2 separate regions of the Homo sapiens genome follow, and region 2 is linked to region 1. Evidence: promoter capture Hi-C in human tissues and cell types (Jung and others, 2019). All regions are on one chromosome and are shown on one strand. The core of a region is centred on a gene start or on the middle of the fragment in contact, and the rest is flanking DNA. Distances in the headings are between cores, read along the strand shown.

Region 1 (7,120 bases), core at 4,621-7,120:
TCTTTATGAGATCAAACTAATGCCTGATGATCTCAGGTGGAACAGTTTAATCCTGAAACCATCCCCCCATCTGTGGAAAAACTGCCTTCCACTAAACCAGTCCCTGGTGCCAAAAACACTGGGAACCGCTAATCTAGACAGTTCTCTGCTAAGGAAGCACGTGGTTGAGAAGCATCAGAATCGTTCCCACGGACCATGCTCCGGAGTCTCAGCAGGCTCCTGCAGGTGAGCCCCACTGGCCTCTCCTCTTCCTTCCGGACCTCCTCAGCTTTGGTAATGGAAAGCTGCATCCTCTTCTGTCCCCAGTTCCTCTCTGGGTGTCAGGATCTCTAAAACCCTCTCAGCCGCTGAGAAGTCTGTCTGTCTGTCTCACAGTGTGTTTATCCGTGCATCATGAAGGACCCTCATACGGCTGACGTGCCTTGGCTGATGCGAATAACACTGCAGCAAGCGTGGCAGTGCAGATAGCTCTTGGAAATACCCATTTCCTTCAGACGCATACTCAGAGGTAGGATTGCTGGATTGTTTGGTCATTTTGATTTTTAAAATTAAAAAGAATTTTAATTCTCATATTGTTTTGAGTAAAATTAAATTATAACTTGTAAGGCAACTCCATGTTTTTTAGAATTTTTAAGAAAAATAATTGCTCTACCAATTGACTGTCCCAACAACAACGTACAGGGGTATTTTTTTTCCTCCGCATCCTCACCACTTGTTACCTTTTGTCTTTTTAATAATAGCAATCCTAAGACATGTGAAGTGATACCTCACTGTGATTTTGATTGGCATTTTCCAGATGATTAGTCTATTCAGGCCCTTTACTTTTTTTTGTTGTTGTTGTTGTTTTTGAGATGGATTCTCACTCTGTTGCCCAGGCTGGAGTGCGATGGCACGATCTCGGCTCACTGCAACCTCCGCCTTCCGGGGAGGCGTGATTAGCCACCACGCCCGGCTAACTTTTGTATTTTAGTAGAGATGAGGTTTCACCATCTTGGCCAGGCTGGTCTCGACCCCCTGATCTCAGGTGATCCACTTTGCCCAGCCTCCCAAATTGTTGGGATTACAGGTGTGAGCCACCACGCCCAGCCCCTTTGCTCTTTTTTAATAGGGTTATTACTATTACCATATTTGCTTTTGAGTTGTGAGTGTTCCTTATATATTTTGGATATAAACTCCTTATCACAGGTATGGTATATATGGTTTGAAATATTTTCTCCCATTATCATGCCCCAATATCACTAAGTTACATTTCACTGCTCCCTCTTGAACACCTGAAAAAATTTCCTATTTCCATGTGTCTGTATCCAGGTTATTGTCACTTTTACCTGAAGACACATTTATATATGCTGATATTCCCCAATAACTAATATATTTTTACTCTTTTTTTTTTTTTTGAGATGGAGTCCTGCTCTGTCACCCAGGCTGGAGTGCAGTGGCATGATCTCAGCTCACTGCAACCTCTGCCTCCCAGGTTCAAGTGATTCTCCTTCCTCAGCCTCCCAGGTTGCTGGGATTACAGGCACATGCCACCACCACTAGCTAATTTTTTTGTATTTTTATTAGAGATGCGGTTTCACCACATGGGTCAGGCTGGTCTTGAACTCCGGACGTCATATGATCCACCCGCCCTTGGTCTCCCAAGGTGCTGGGATTATAGGCATGAGCCGCTGCACCCGGCCCTAACTAATATATTTTAAATAACTTTTTGCTCTTGGCACATGGACTAAAACCACATCACCAGGCCTTCAATGACGTCCAATGTCTGCCATCTTATTTCCACTCCAGCTCCGCCCCAGGCATAGTTGCCTTTCTTTTTATTGAAGCCTTCTCCTTGCCAAGTTAATTAAAGAGAATGTTTTCTTCATCAAATTAGAAATTACATCCTCAGAGCTTTCCAGTATTTGTAGTTCTTACAGGCCACATTTATTACAAGTTTATAGACTCCAAACTTCTCCACTGAACAGTTAATAAAAAGGACACAGGCTTATTGTAAAATAATTCATTTAGTGCCTGCCATTCTGATTACACTAGAAATTTAGTTCTCCTGCTCAGCGTTCTGTTATGTGACTGTTCAATGCATTACTTAAAACTGCAAGATTGAATAGAGAGATCAGCTTCTGACACTGATGAATGCAAACCACAAGAAACCAAGTCTCCTCTGCAAAATGATGAAAACACTCGCAAAGTCACTAAAATCAATCATTTCAGACTTCTGAAATTTACCAAAGCCACAGAACAAAGTGAAAAGTATCTATCCCACAGAAAGTACCAAACTTCAGTAAGACAGCAGCATTTGTGTCATTTTAATGTGGAGGCATTACCATTACCCTCCATCCTTCGTTCAGTGTAGAGCACTGACCTCTTTTGAAGCTCCTTTTAAACACCTCCTATCAGGCCAGTCGCGGTGGCTCAAGCCTGTAATCCCAGCACTTTGGACGACAGAGCGAGACTCCATCTGAAAAAAAGAAAGAAAAAAAAAAGAGAAAGTGACTTTTCAAGACTGTGATTTATGGTCTCCCCTGGGAACCAACAGTATCTGTGCTGAGAGCAGATATTTGGGTGGAAGGGGCTCTGGTGTGCAGGGCATGCCTTCTGTAGCTCAGTGCTTCTGACAATGGGTCCGAGGGGAGAAACATTGGCATTAACAGGGAACTTGTTAAAGATGCCAATTTATAAATGCTACCTCAAACCTGCAGAATCAAACATTATTACAGTGGGTTGTGGAGTGCCAGATGACTTATATTCACCTTAAAGCTTGAGAGTCAGTGCTTAGCTAAGAGGCTCTCAGCCCAGGCTTCCAGTTGGATCAAATGGTCATATTCAGTTACTACCATCACCTGTGCCCTCCCCATAGCGTCTGTCTATTGGTGTCGGGGGAAACATCCATGCTGTTTCAATTAACTACCCTGCCCCCAGGTGATTCTAGGGTGAGGAGAAGTCCAGCATGAGGGCTTCCATATGCATTTGTGAAGGTTGATGGCAGACTGTTCCAAATGAGAATAATGGTTTCCGTGATATGATAAAAGCAATGCTATTGAATATGATGATGACTGATGAGAAGTTTTGCATAGCATTCGCTGTAAAAAAGCCACTTATAGGCTGGGCACGGTGGCTCACGCCTGTAATTCCAGCATTTTCGGAGGCTGAGGTGAGCAGATCACCGGAGGTCAAGAGTTCAAGACCAGCCTGGCTAACATGGTGAAACCCTGTCTCAACTAAAAATGCAAACATTAGCCAGATGTGGTGGTGGATGCCTGTAATCCCAGCTACTTGGGAGGCTGAGGCAGGAGAACTGCTTGAATCTGAGAGGTGTAGGTTGCAGTGAGCTGACATCATGCCTCTGCACTCCAGCCTGGGTGAGAGAGCAAGACTACGTCCAAAAAAAAAAAAAAAGAGAGAGAGAATTTTCCTGTAAATAATTAAAAAGACTAAGCAGCCCCAGAGATAAGACCTCCTGGGATCATTGTCCCTTTATATTGAGTGATAAAGTAACCTTCCTTGAAGTATATCAATCCATAACCAATCACCTTGCTGCACCCTATGTACTGGTCTTGAATGGAAAATGTGGTGATTCTTCTAAAGCTTCTCTGTCTTTCCGTGTGTGTGAAACCTAAGGGAACGCTGATCCCATTCATTTGGAGTTGATGTTTCCAGGTGGCTATCCTCATGCTTTGTGTTCAAATAAACTCTGTGCTTAATCATATATTCTAAATTTTATTATTTACTGCTGATATCAGTTTCTGTCAGACTGTAGGAGCCTCACCAGAGAGGGCACCTGTCGCTATGTTGTAAAACTCACACTTGTCAGAAAGACATGGGTTAGTGTTACTCCCCGTCCCTCAGAATGAAGCTAATTAGCTGACACAGATGGTCACCTCCATTACCAAGTAGAGTCAGGATGAACTATGTGTGACCAAGAGTGTTGTCAAGTCCTCTTCCCTGAGGACTGATTAGCGTTTATCTTGAAAACATGTCCTTAATGGGTTGTATAGAACAGTAAAGTTTCTTTCTCTTTTTTCAACCTCTTAGCTGTTTGCCTGTATTTCGCATCACAATCTGGTCTAAGGCTTATTTATTAATGAAATGGTTTTAATTTCTTTCTCTATGATCATCGTGGAGATGATTTCTCATTTGGAGAAAGACTTTTTGTTTGTTTTCAATTATATTTTCTCAACAATTAGACAGTGAAGTAAAAAGTATTTTGGGGGGGCCAGGCACAGTGGCTCACGCCTGTAATCCCAGTACTTTGGGAGGCCGAGGCAGGTGGATCACTTGAAGTCAGGAGGTTGAGACCAGCTGGCCAACATGGGGAACCCACCTACAAAAATACAAAAATTAGCCGGGCATGGTGGCACGCGCCTGTAATGGCAGGTACTCCGGAGGCTGAGGCAGGGGAATCGCTTGAACCCAGGAGGCAGAGGCTGCAGTGAGCCCAGTTCCTGCCACTGCACTCCAGCCTGGGCGACAGAGAAATGCTCTGTCTCAAAATAAAAGAAAAGAAATAAGTAAATAAATAAAAGAAAGTAATAGATCTCTTCTACAAATGTGCTGGGACAACTAACTGGATATCCACATGGAAAAGAATAATGTATCCCTATCTCACACAATCAAAATTTTATTTTAACGTTAAAAAATGGAGAAAAAAAGAGAGAGAGACGAGGGAGGGAGTCCTGAGGGAGGGGTGTTACTTTGTCGCCCAGGCTGGCCTGGACCCCCAGGCTCAGCGATCCTCTCGCCGCTGCTTCCTGAGTAGCTGGGAACTCAGGCTCCCGCCCCCGCGCCTGAATCCTTGCTGTGTTTATCCAGCAGGTCGCCCCTGGCTGGCCTGAGCATTCCGTCCCGCATCCCAGGGGGAGGCCCTAGGGAAGTCTCTGCAGCTGAGCACGGGGTGGACTCTCCCTCCTGAGTGAGTGGAGAATAGAAAGGGAGAGGATTTCTGTTCTGTTCTGTGGGCCGTCAGCATGAAATCGTACGTTCCGCCCAGGCAGGGCCTTGCATTTTACATTCTAGTTTGTATCCCGTTCCAGACAATTCCAGGGCTTTTGAGTCCATGCGTCAGCCTTCCTGGGCGGTCTCACCTTCACCACCCGAAAACAGGTGCTAGGAGAGAAGCTGAGAGGAGCACCGGTCACGCCCCGGCCCCGCCCTCTGCCGGCTCTAAAGCGCAAGGTCTCTCCGCCTCGCGCCCCGCCCCTGCCTCGTCCAGGCCCCGCCCACCTCCTTGCGGGTCCCGCCCAGGCCTGGCTTCTGCTCTGCGCGCGCAGATTCGTGCAGACCAGGAAGCGGATAGCGTGGAGTGACGGTGCCACCGCGGCGCGTGAGTTTCGCCCTGTCTTGTATTAAGTCTGCTCTTCCAGGTTCCTGGCGCTTCTGTACCTGGGACTTGGGATCCCCACAAACCTGGAAATTCTCAGCCGTCTTCCTTCACTCAGAGCAAATTGAGACGACCTCGTGAGAGGCCGTGGGTCGGTTCCTTTTGGGTTTAAGGTCCCCCTGAGGCTGGTCCCGTCCCGGGTGTTTCTGCTACAGGGCAATGTATACACTTTCTAACCTGTAGTTTTCCTGCTGTAAACCTTTTTCTGACTCCTCCCGCCCCGCGCTTTTTAAAGTCCTCACCTGAGAGGTGGATTCTCGCCTTTGTCGGCCCCTGGAGCCCAGCGCCGCTGCCCCAGTCCCGGAAAGGCCGCGTCCTCTGCCTGGTCCTAGGATCCTGCAGACCCCACCCTTGCCTTAAGGTGCTGTCGCCCCTTCACCTCCCTCCTTGTGCCGGGCCCTGCTGCTCCACGGGTTTCGCCTCCACAATCACCGCTTCCCCTGAGCCCGCGTTGGGGAGGTGCCCGGGGCCTGTCCTGTGACGCGGGGTGTTACTGCCTGCCCAGCTCCAGCCCCTGGAAAATGCGCTCCCCCGGGATGCAGGCGTCTTACTCCAAACCCTCCTGTGACTGTGTGGGCCAAAGGGATCAGGAGACGGACAGAGAGCAGTGGAAAACCTGAGACAGAAAAGAAGAATGAGAAAGACCTATAACAGATGGCAAAGTAGAGGATGGGTGAGGGATTTGCCAAGAGACAGCAAAAGTGAAAAGAAAACGATAAGAAAGCAGGAGGAGAAAAGCAAGTGCAGAAATGTAGAGAAAAGCTGGATGTACAGAGAGATGAAGGACAGCAAGGTAGGGAGAGGGACAGCAAAGAGGGAGGCTCATCAGGGTGAGGGAGAGGAGGAGGGATTTGGAGCCAGGGCAGACAGAGCAGAGTGGTGCTGGTGGCAAGGAGAACAGAGGGAGAAGCACAGCAGGGAGGACACCTGGGGATCTGGGGTGCTAGAGAGTGGGGACAGGGGGGTATAACAGGGAAGAGAGAATTTAACGGGGAGAGCAAAGGAGGCGCAGAGATGGTGTTGCGGGAAACTGAGGACTAGACAGACTGATATGGGGGAGACAAAAGGATGTTTATTTAAGATACGCACCGGCTCAGTGGATTTACATCTAAAAAGCTGAGCATTTCAACAAAGACGGAGTGGGGTTTTTTGCTTTCAGAAGCAGAATAAAAGCAGTTAATCATATAATGATAGGTCATGTAATCTATAGCATAGCATAACTTGTGTCCTTCCATAGCTGGTGGCCTCGTAGCTGAGTTGAAAGAAAAACAAGAACAGCTAAATACACACATTTGTCCTTTTTTTTTTTTTCTTCACTCTTGTTCTGGGAAGGTGGGGGGCTGTCTGGAGCCCATTTCTTTGGCTTCGACTTCGCCAAGTCGAGCTTGCTAGGCAGAGGAAAACTTGTTCTTCTTTTCTTTTTAACCCTTGCCTTGCCTGTTACTTTTCTTGGAGTGAATGAATGCATGTTTGTTTTTTAACTTTCTGCCTCAGTTTTCTCCCTTAGATGCCTTTTATGAACAAGATTTTACTAGAAGACATCACTATTACTGGATTCTTCATGAAAGAGCACTGGCTGATATTTATATCGGGCTATTAGCTGAGTGGTAGTCTGCCTGGTCGCAATTGCTTCTATAGTTGATTGAATGCTCTTAACACGGAGAGGTAAGAGGTAAGGGAGTATCAAACCAATTCTTAGTATGGCTAGAACTACTCCTATTAAGGTTTTGAATCTACTGAAGGAGG
Region 2 (6,932 bases), core at 863-3,362, 530 kb after region 1:
GAAAGTATTCCTAATTGAAAAGAGAGTTGTAGTCTTGCGGATCACATTTTTCAGAGGGACACAGTCTACTGGGGGGGCTCTTTCTGCATGTGGAAGAAGATGAGGGGCTACAGTGTGTGTTCCTGTACAGGTGAAGTCGTAGAGGGGAGTACTGGGGGGCGTTCCCAAGAAGGGAAGCCTGTGGGGGCCTGCGGAGGGGATTTTCCGGGGCAGAGGAGAACCTGGGAGCTATAGCGGTGGAGCAAGAGGAAGTGAGTCAAGGGAATTCTATATGATGAGAGAGAAGTTGGGGAGGATGCTTCCTGGTACATTGAAGAGAGAGTGGGCTTCAAAGTGAGTTAGGGGGATCTCAAGTTGGGGGAAACAGTGTGCTGAAGATCCCGTGTGATGATGAAGGGCTACGAGGAGGGGATTTGGAGGCAGTGGGAGCTGCTGTGAGTGCAGAGGGGCGGGTGGGTGGTACAGTGTGCCCCCTGCTATGGGAGTACAGGGCAGAGATTGGAATGGTCCTGAGTGGAGAGACATTTGGGGTCTGGAGGAAGCCATTCTTGCGAGTAGAAAATGCCGTGGAACTCACGGAGGAAATTTTTCTTAATGGAGGAGAAAACGATGGTTATGATATGAGTTCGTTTAAGTTGTGGGGGGGGGGGTGGCGGGGTGGGAAGATTCAGAAAACTCTTCTAAAGCAAAAGAGAGGGTGGGGGTTTTCCTGGAGTAAAGGCATAGTATGGGGTGGGGAGTGAGTGGCTTGTGGGGAGACAGTGGGGGCTGTGACAGGGAATGGGCTGGAGATGGCGGGGGGGGGGCAGCTTGCAAACCAGTGGGTCTGATGTTGGGTGCATTAGAATTCCCCAGGGAGCTTTTAAAAACTTACATGCGCAGGCCACACTGCAGACCAACCATGTCGGACTTTCTCAGGTGGGACTCAAACATCCGAATTTTTAAGGTCCTCGGGTGATTTCCAGGTGTGTTGGAGGCTGCCCGAGGCAGGAAGGGGGCTTCCAGGGAGAGGAGGCTGACTGAGGGTGGCTGGTGATTCCGAGTTGCACAAACTGTGAGGGTCAGCTGGGATTTTCTTTTTCTTTTTCTTCTTCTTTTAATTTTTCCTTTTTAGTTGAAGAGAGGTTGAGAGATTTATTTTTTCCTAAGGAGAGGAAACTGTGGGGGACCATTTGGAGTGATGGAATGACAAAAGCCAGACCGGAGGGGGCTCGCGGAGGTTACTCCCACGGAAGTGGTGCTACTCGGGCTTCTTAAGTTGTGGAGACGCTCAGGGAAAAGTTGGGCTGACAGGGAAGGGTTCTAGCGGGTGGAGAGGTGGGGCTTGCAGGGGAAGAGTGGGGAGAGCTGGTGGGCGCCGCATGGTGATGGGGCGGGGGTCGCTAAGGAAGGAAGAACGCGACGGGGGCTCCTGGGGAGGAGGCGGCGGCGTGGGGCTTGGCATCATGGCGGGGGGTGGCTTCCCATGCGATGAGGATCGTGGAGCCCCCTGGGGCGGAGGCGGCGCGGGCTAGGGGCGAGGGCTGTGAGTGTGAGCGGTGGTGGGGACTCCTCCGAGTGGGGTTAGTGGGATGGTGGGACGACTTTCTTGGGCAGAAGACAGGAGTGGAGAGAGATTTCATCTTATTTATTAATTATTAGCGGTGGTGGGGACTCCTCCGAGTGGGGTTAGTGGGATGGTGGGACGACTTTCTTGGGCAGAAGACAGGAGTGGAGAGAGATTTCATCTTATTTATTAATTATTAGCGGTGGTGGGGACTCCTCCGAGTGGGGTTAGTGGGATGGTGGGACGACTTTCTTGGGCAGAAGACAGGAGTGGAGAGAGATTTCATCTTATTTATTAATTATTAGCGGTGGTGGGGACTCCTCCGAGTGGGGTTAGTGGGATGGTGGGATGACTTTCTTGGGCAGAAGACAAGAGTGGAGAGAGATTTCATCTTATTTATTAATTATTATTATTATTATTATTATTATTATTATTTTTGAGAAAGAGAAGCAGTGGAGCCCCGAGTGGAAGGAGTTTCTGGAGCTGAGGCAGGGATTTTGGGGGGGGGGGGGCGGGGACTGGGGGAGGTACCTGTGCCTTCTTCTCCTCTAATGCGAGATCTCGCTCCTTGCCCTCCACCAGCCGCCGACCATGGCCGCGCTCTGACCCCCTCCCCGGCCGCAGCCTCCTCCTCGCCGCCCCCCTCCCCAGCCCCGCCGGCCCCGGGCCCCCCGCTTCTGCCTGCGCTGTGAACCCCCCCCCAGCCGCCGGCACGGCCCCGCCCCCGCTGCCCCGGTGGTGGCCCACGGCCCCCCGGCTGCCCGTGGTCAAACTGGAGTCGCTGAAGCGCTGGAACGAAGAGCGGGGCCTCTGGTGCGAGAAGGGGGTGCAGGTGCTGCTGACGACGGTGGGCGCCTTCGCCGCCTTCGGCCTCATGACCATCGCCATCAGCACTGACTACTGGCTCTACACGCGCGCCCTCATCTGCAACACCACCAACCTCACGGCCGGCGGCGACGACGGGACCCCCCACCGCGGGGGCGGCGGCGCCTCGGAGAAGAAGGACCCCGGCGGCCTCACGCACTCGGGCCTCTGGAGGATCTGCTGCCTGGAAGGTAGGGTGCGGGCGGCCCTCCCCGCAGCCCCCGCCGCTCCCCTCCGAGAGACCCTGAGCCTCCCGGGGCTGCCTGTCCCTGATCCTGGGGCCCCCTTGGGCACCCCTCCTCCTCTGCCAGAGGGGCTTCTGCGCCTTCCCACTCGCGCCCCTGACCTCCTCTCCCCTCCTTCCCACTCCTCCCTGCGTCCTGGCACCCTGCGGAATTCCTCGGCATGCTCCCTCTGCAGCCCCTCTGCCTCTCCGCTGAACCCCCTTATCCTATCTTTCCCTAGTCCGTGTCTCCTGCGCTGCCCCATCACACCCCTGCATCTTCCCTCTCTCCAGTACCTGGGGCTCCTCCTGTTTCATTTCTTCCACTCTGCCCTGTGCCTTTTCTCTTTTTTTTTTTTTTTTTGACAAGGTCTCACTCTGTCGCCCAGGCTGGAGTACGGTGGCACAATCACAGCTCACTGCAGCCTCGAATCCCTAGGCTCAAGCCATCCTCCCACCTCTGCCTCCTGAGTAGCTGGGACCACAGGCATGAGCCACTGTGCCCAGCTAATTTTTTTTATTATTTGTAGAGATGAGGTCTCCTGTTGCCCAGGCTGGTCTCGAGCTCCTGAGCTCAAGAGATCCTCCTGCCTTGGCCTCCAAAGTGCTGGGATGAAGGGCATGAGCCACTGCACCCAGCAGCCTCTTTCTCCCTCTTTCCCGTCAGTTCATCTTGACCCTGCTCCTCCGCTCCACCTGCCCCTTCATTTCCTCTCCCTCGTGCCCCGTGACATCTTCTCTCTCCCGACATTTCCCCCCCAGTCCTCTGAAGTCCCCTGCCTCTCCCGCCCCCTTTCACGGCCCAGTCTTCCGGTCTGTCTCTTTCCCCTTCTCTTTGGCTGCTGCTCCCCTGAAACTTCGTGCCTTAACTCGCCCTCACTCATGACTTTCTCTCTTTTCTGCCTTGTGCTTCTCCTCCTGTTCATCTTTCTCTTCCCATCAGTGCCCCCACCCATGTCTCTCCCACCAGGGTGCCCTCCAACCTCCCATCCTGGTCCTTTCCTCCTTTTTCCTTTAGTGGACTCCACTTCCTCTTCCTCCACTCATGCCTCCTTCGACGTCTTCCTGACTCGATGCCTCAGGCCTTCACGTTAAGGCTTCTCGCTCCTGCCCCTGCTACCTCCTCGGATCTTCGACTTGGTTCTTTTCCTCTGTCCTGTTCTCCCTCTCACAGCTTCTCTCCTAGCTCGGCTCCCTGGCTCTCGACTTCCCCACTTCTCCAAGACTCCTGCCCTCTGCTGTGCCAACCCCTTCTCTCTCCCACTCTTAGCATCAGTATTTCTTTCCTGAGTATCAAGTAGCTGCGGGGCTGGGAAGCAGGAGTCTTGGGTGCCAGTTCTGCTGCATATCTGCCCTGCTGTGTGACCACTGTCTTCCCTCCTGCACCCCAGCCTCACAGCCCTTGTCTGCAACGTGAAGGAGTGGAACCAGCCATCCTGATGCCCCCTTCGGCCAAAAGATTGAAATCTCTTGCTTCTCTTTTTCATCCCCCTCTATTTCCTCTGCCCCTTCTTCCTCTGTTTTGCTGAGTGTTCACGACAAGCCGGGAACGTTATCTCGTTTAATCCTATGAGGTGGGCACCACCTCGCTGTTGGGGATGGGTAAACTGAGGCTCAGAGAAGTGAAGTCACTTGCCCAAGGTCACCTAGCTGAGAAAGGGGCCGAGCCAAGAGCAGAACTCGAATCTCATGGATGGGATTCACAGATGCGCTCTGTCTAGTGTACAAAGTGTTTAAAACTGAAAGCAAAATCTGAATCCATTGCCAACAGTTAAAAATAGGGAGGCTTCCCATTGTAGTTCTGATTTCCGGCTTCTTCTGAGCTGGCGGAAGATCTAGCACAAGCCTGTGTTCTACCCTGACCACGATGGGCCGGATCTGAGCAGCAGCTGGGGGGTCTCCACTTCCCCACAGTCACCTCCATCTGCTCCGTCTCGCCTCCCATTCCTCCCACGGCTCTCGTGATGTTCTTTGCCTCTCCTGTGGAAGTTTGAGTTCATGTCCATTCACTGGTCTGACCAAGTACCAGGCATAGAGCCAAGTGTGAGGGCTCCCATCATGGGAGCCCTAGGACAGCACGTGGCATCTAGTAGGGATGTCATTCATTCATTCATTCGTTCATTCAACGTCCCATTTTTATTGAGTTTATATTATGTGCCAGGCATTGTTCTGGATTCTGGGGCTGCAGCAGTGGAAAACAAACAGACAAAACCTCCTGTCGTTATATATCTTATATTCTAAGGGAGAGACAGATAATGATGGAGGTAAAGTCAACCTTTAGGGTGTTAGATAGAACTGAGTGCTAAGGAGGACAAGGAGTTGGGGGAGGGGATGGGAGGGGTCAGGGATCCCCGTGGGAAGTAGATAAGGAATCTAGGAAAAGCTTCCCCGAGCAGGTGACATTTGATCACAGGTCTGAAGGAAGTAAGAGATGGAGGAAAGTGCTTCAGACTGTAGGAATAGCAGGCGCAGAGGCCCTGAGGTGGGAGTGTGGCTGTGTGTTGATCAAGCCAGTGTGAGGTCAGCGTGGCCGGGGCAGAGTGGGTGGCGGAGAACGTAGGAGTAAGAGGTGCAGTCGTAGGGGTATCAGGGTCCCCATCCCACAGGTTCTGTTTTTTAAAAATTATTTATTTATTTATTTATTTATTGAAACAGAGTCTTGCTTTGTCACCCAAGCTGTAGTGCAGTGGCGTGATCTTGGCTTACTGCAACTTCGGCCTCCTGGGTTCAAGCGATTCTCATACCTCAGCCTCCCGAGTAGCTGGAATCACAGGTGTGTGCCACCATGCCCGGCTAATTTTTGTATTTTTAGTAGAGACAGGGTTTTACCATGTTGGCCAGGCTGGTCTCGAACTTCTGACCTCAAGTGATTGGCCCGCCTAGGCCTCCCAAAGTGCTGGGATTACAGATGTGAGCCACCATGCCTGGCCAGCTTCTGTGTTTGTTTTTGTTTTGTTTTTCTTTTTTTGTTTTTAGGCAGGGTTTTGCTCTGTCACCCAGGCTGGCGTGCAGTGGTAAGACCATAGCTCACTGCAGCCTTGAACCCCTGAACCCAAGCCGTCCTCTTGCCTCAGCCTCCCAAATAGCTAGAACTACAGGCACATGCCCCCATTTTTTGTAGACACAGGGTCTCACTATATTGCCCAGGCTGGTCTCAAACTCCTGGGCTCAAGCAATCCTCCGGCCTCAGCCTCCCGATGTGTTGGGATTACAGATGTCAGCCACTGCACCCGGCCTCACGGCTTCTTATACATCCCAGAAAGCACTTTGCTTTAGATTCGGAGATGGGAGCCGTTGAAGGTTCTTGAGCAGAGGAGTCACACGAGCTGACTTACATTTTTGCGGTATGTTTCTTGCTGCTGTGTTAACAAATGACCGAGGGGAAGGCAAATGAGACAACGAGAGGCTCATCTAGGGTGGGGGCAGCAGGGTTTGGGAAGTTGTTTGAATTTTGAGTATATTCTGGAGCTACCGTGGGCAGGAGTTGCTGATGGAGCAGTTGTAGGATATGAGAGAGAAGAGCCAGGGGCGTCTCCAAAGCAGGGTTTTTCCACCGCAGCATGGTTGATATTTTGGGGTGGATAATTCTGTGTGGAGGGGCCGTCCTATGCATTGTAGGATGCTGAGCAACAGCCTTGATCTCTCCTACTAGGATGCCAGCAGCGCCCTTCCCAGTCGTGACAACCAAAATTGTAAATTGTGTCTAAACATTGTCAGCTGTCTCCTGGGGGATAAAATCGCCCTGAGTTGAGAATCACCGCTCTAAGGCTTTGGCCTGAGCTCCTGAGAATAGGGGAGCCATTCATAAGATGAAACAGCAGCTGTTTTATTTATTTTCTCTTATCAAATTTATTATGAAGGAGAGGGACCATGGGCTCAGTTTTGGGCATGTTAAATTTACGATGCCCATTAACAGATAACATCTGGACAGAGGTCAGCACAGTGAAGGTCCTATAAAGTGCCATATAGTAAAGATTTCAGGCTTTGTGGAGCAGTCTCTATCACGACTACTCGTGAAAACGACCAAGACAGTCTGTAAGTGAGTGTGGCTGTGTTCCAATGAGACTTCATTTATGGACACTAAAATCTGAATTTCACTGGGCGCAGTGGCTCACACCTGTAATCCCAGCACTTTGGGAGGCCAAAGCAGGCGGATCACCTGAGGTCAGGAGTTCAAGACCAGCCTGGCCAACATGGTGAAAACTGGTCTCCACTAAAAATACGAAAATTAGCCAGGCGTGGTGGCACGCGCCTGTAGTCCCAGCTACTTGGTAGGCTGAGGCAGGAGAATCGCTTGAA

Evidence for each region. The method cuts DNA at HindIII sites, captures the fragments that hold promoters and counts their contacts. A contact is called where the count stands out against the background at its distance.
Region 2: the fragment with the promoter of CACNG8 here is called in contact with a fragment that was not itself captured in region 1 in 1 of the 25 tissues and cell types used here (liver).

Annotation. Positions count from the first base shown.
Region 1 is chr19:53,426,712-53,433,831 of GRCh38, forward strand. It overlaps ZNF765-ZNF761 (ZNF765-ZNF761 readthrough), which reads left to right. Exons shown (of 13, transcript NM_001350496.2): 8 at 37-225; 9 at 376-508. It overlaps ZNF761 (zinc finger protein 761), which reads left to right and starts at 5,273. Exons shown (of 5, transcript NM_001289951.2): 1 at 5,273-5,317. It also overlaps a transcript of ZNF765 not described here and the pseudogene TPM3P9. RefSeq lists a silencer at 5,150-5,229. The HindIII fragment of the contact is 5,404 bases long and covers 3,169-7,120 here.
Region 2 is chr19:53,960,825-53,967,756 of GRCh38, forward strand. It overlaps CACNG8 (calcium voltage-gated channel auxiliary subunit gamma 8), which reads left to right and starts at 2,113. Exons shown (of 4, transcript NM_031895.6): 1 at 2,113-2,601. The coding sequence starts at 2,319. RefSeq lists enhancers at 1-143, 954-1,474. The HindIII fragment of the contact is 7,710 bases long and covers 1-6,321 here.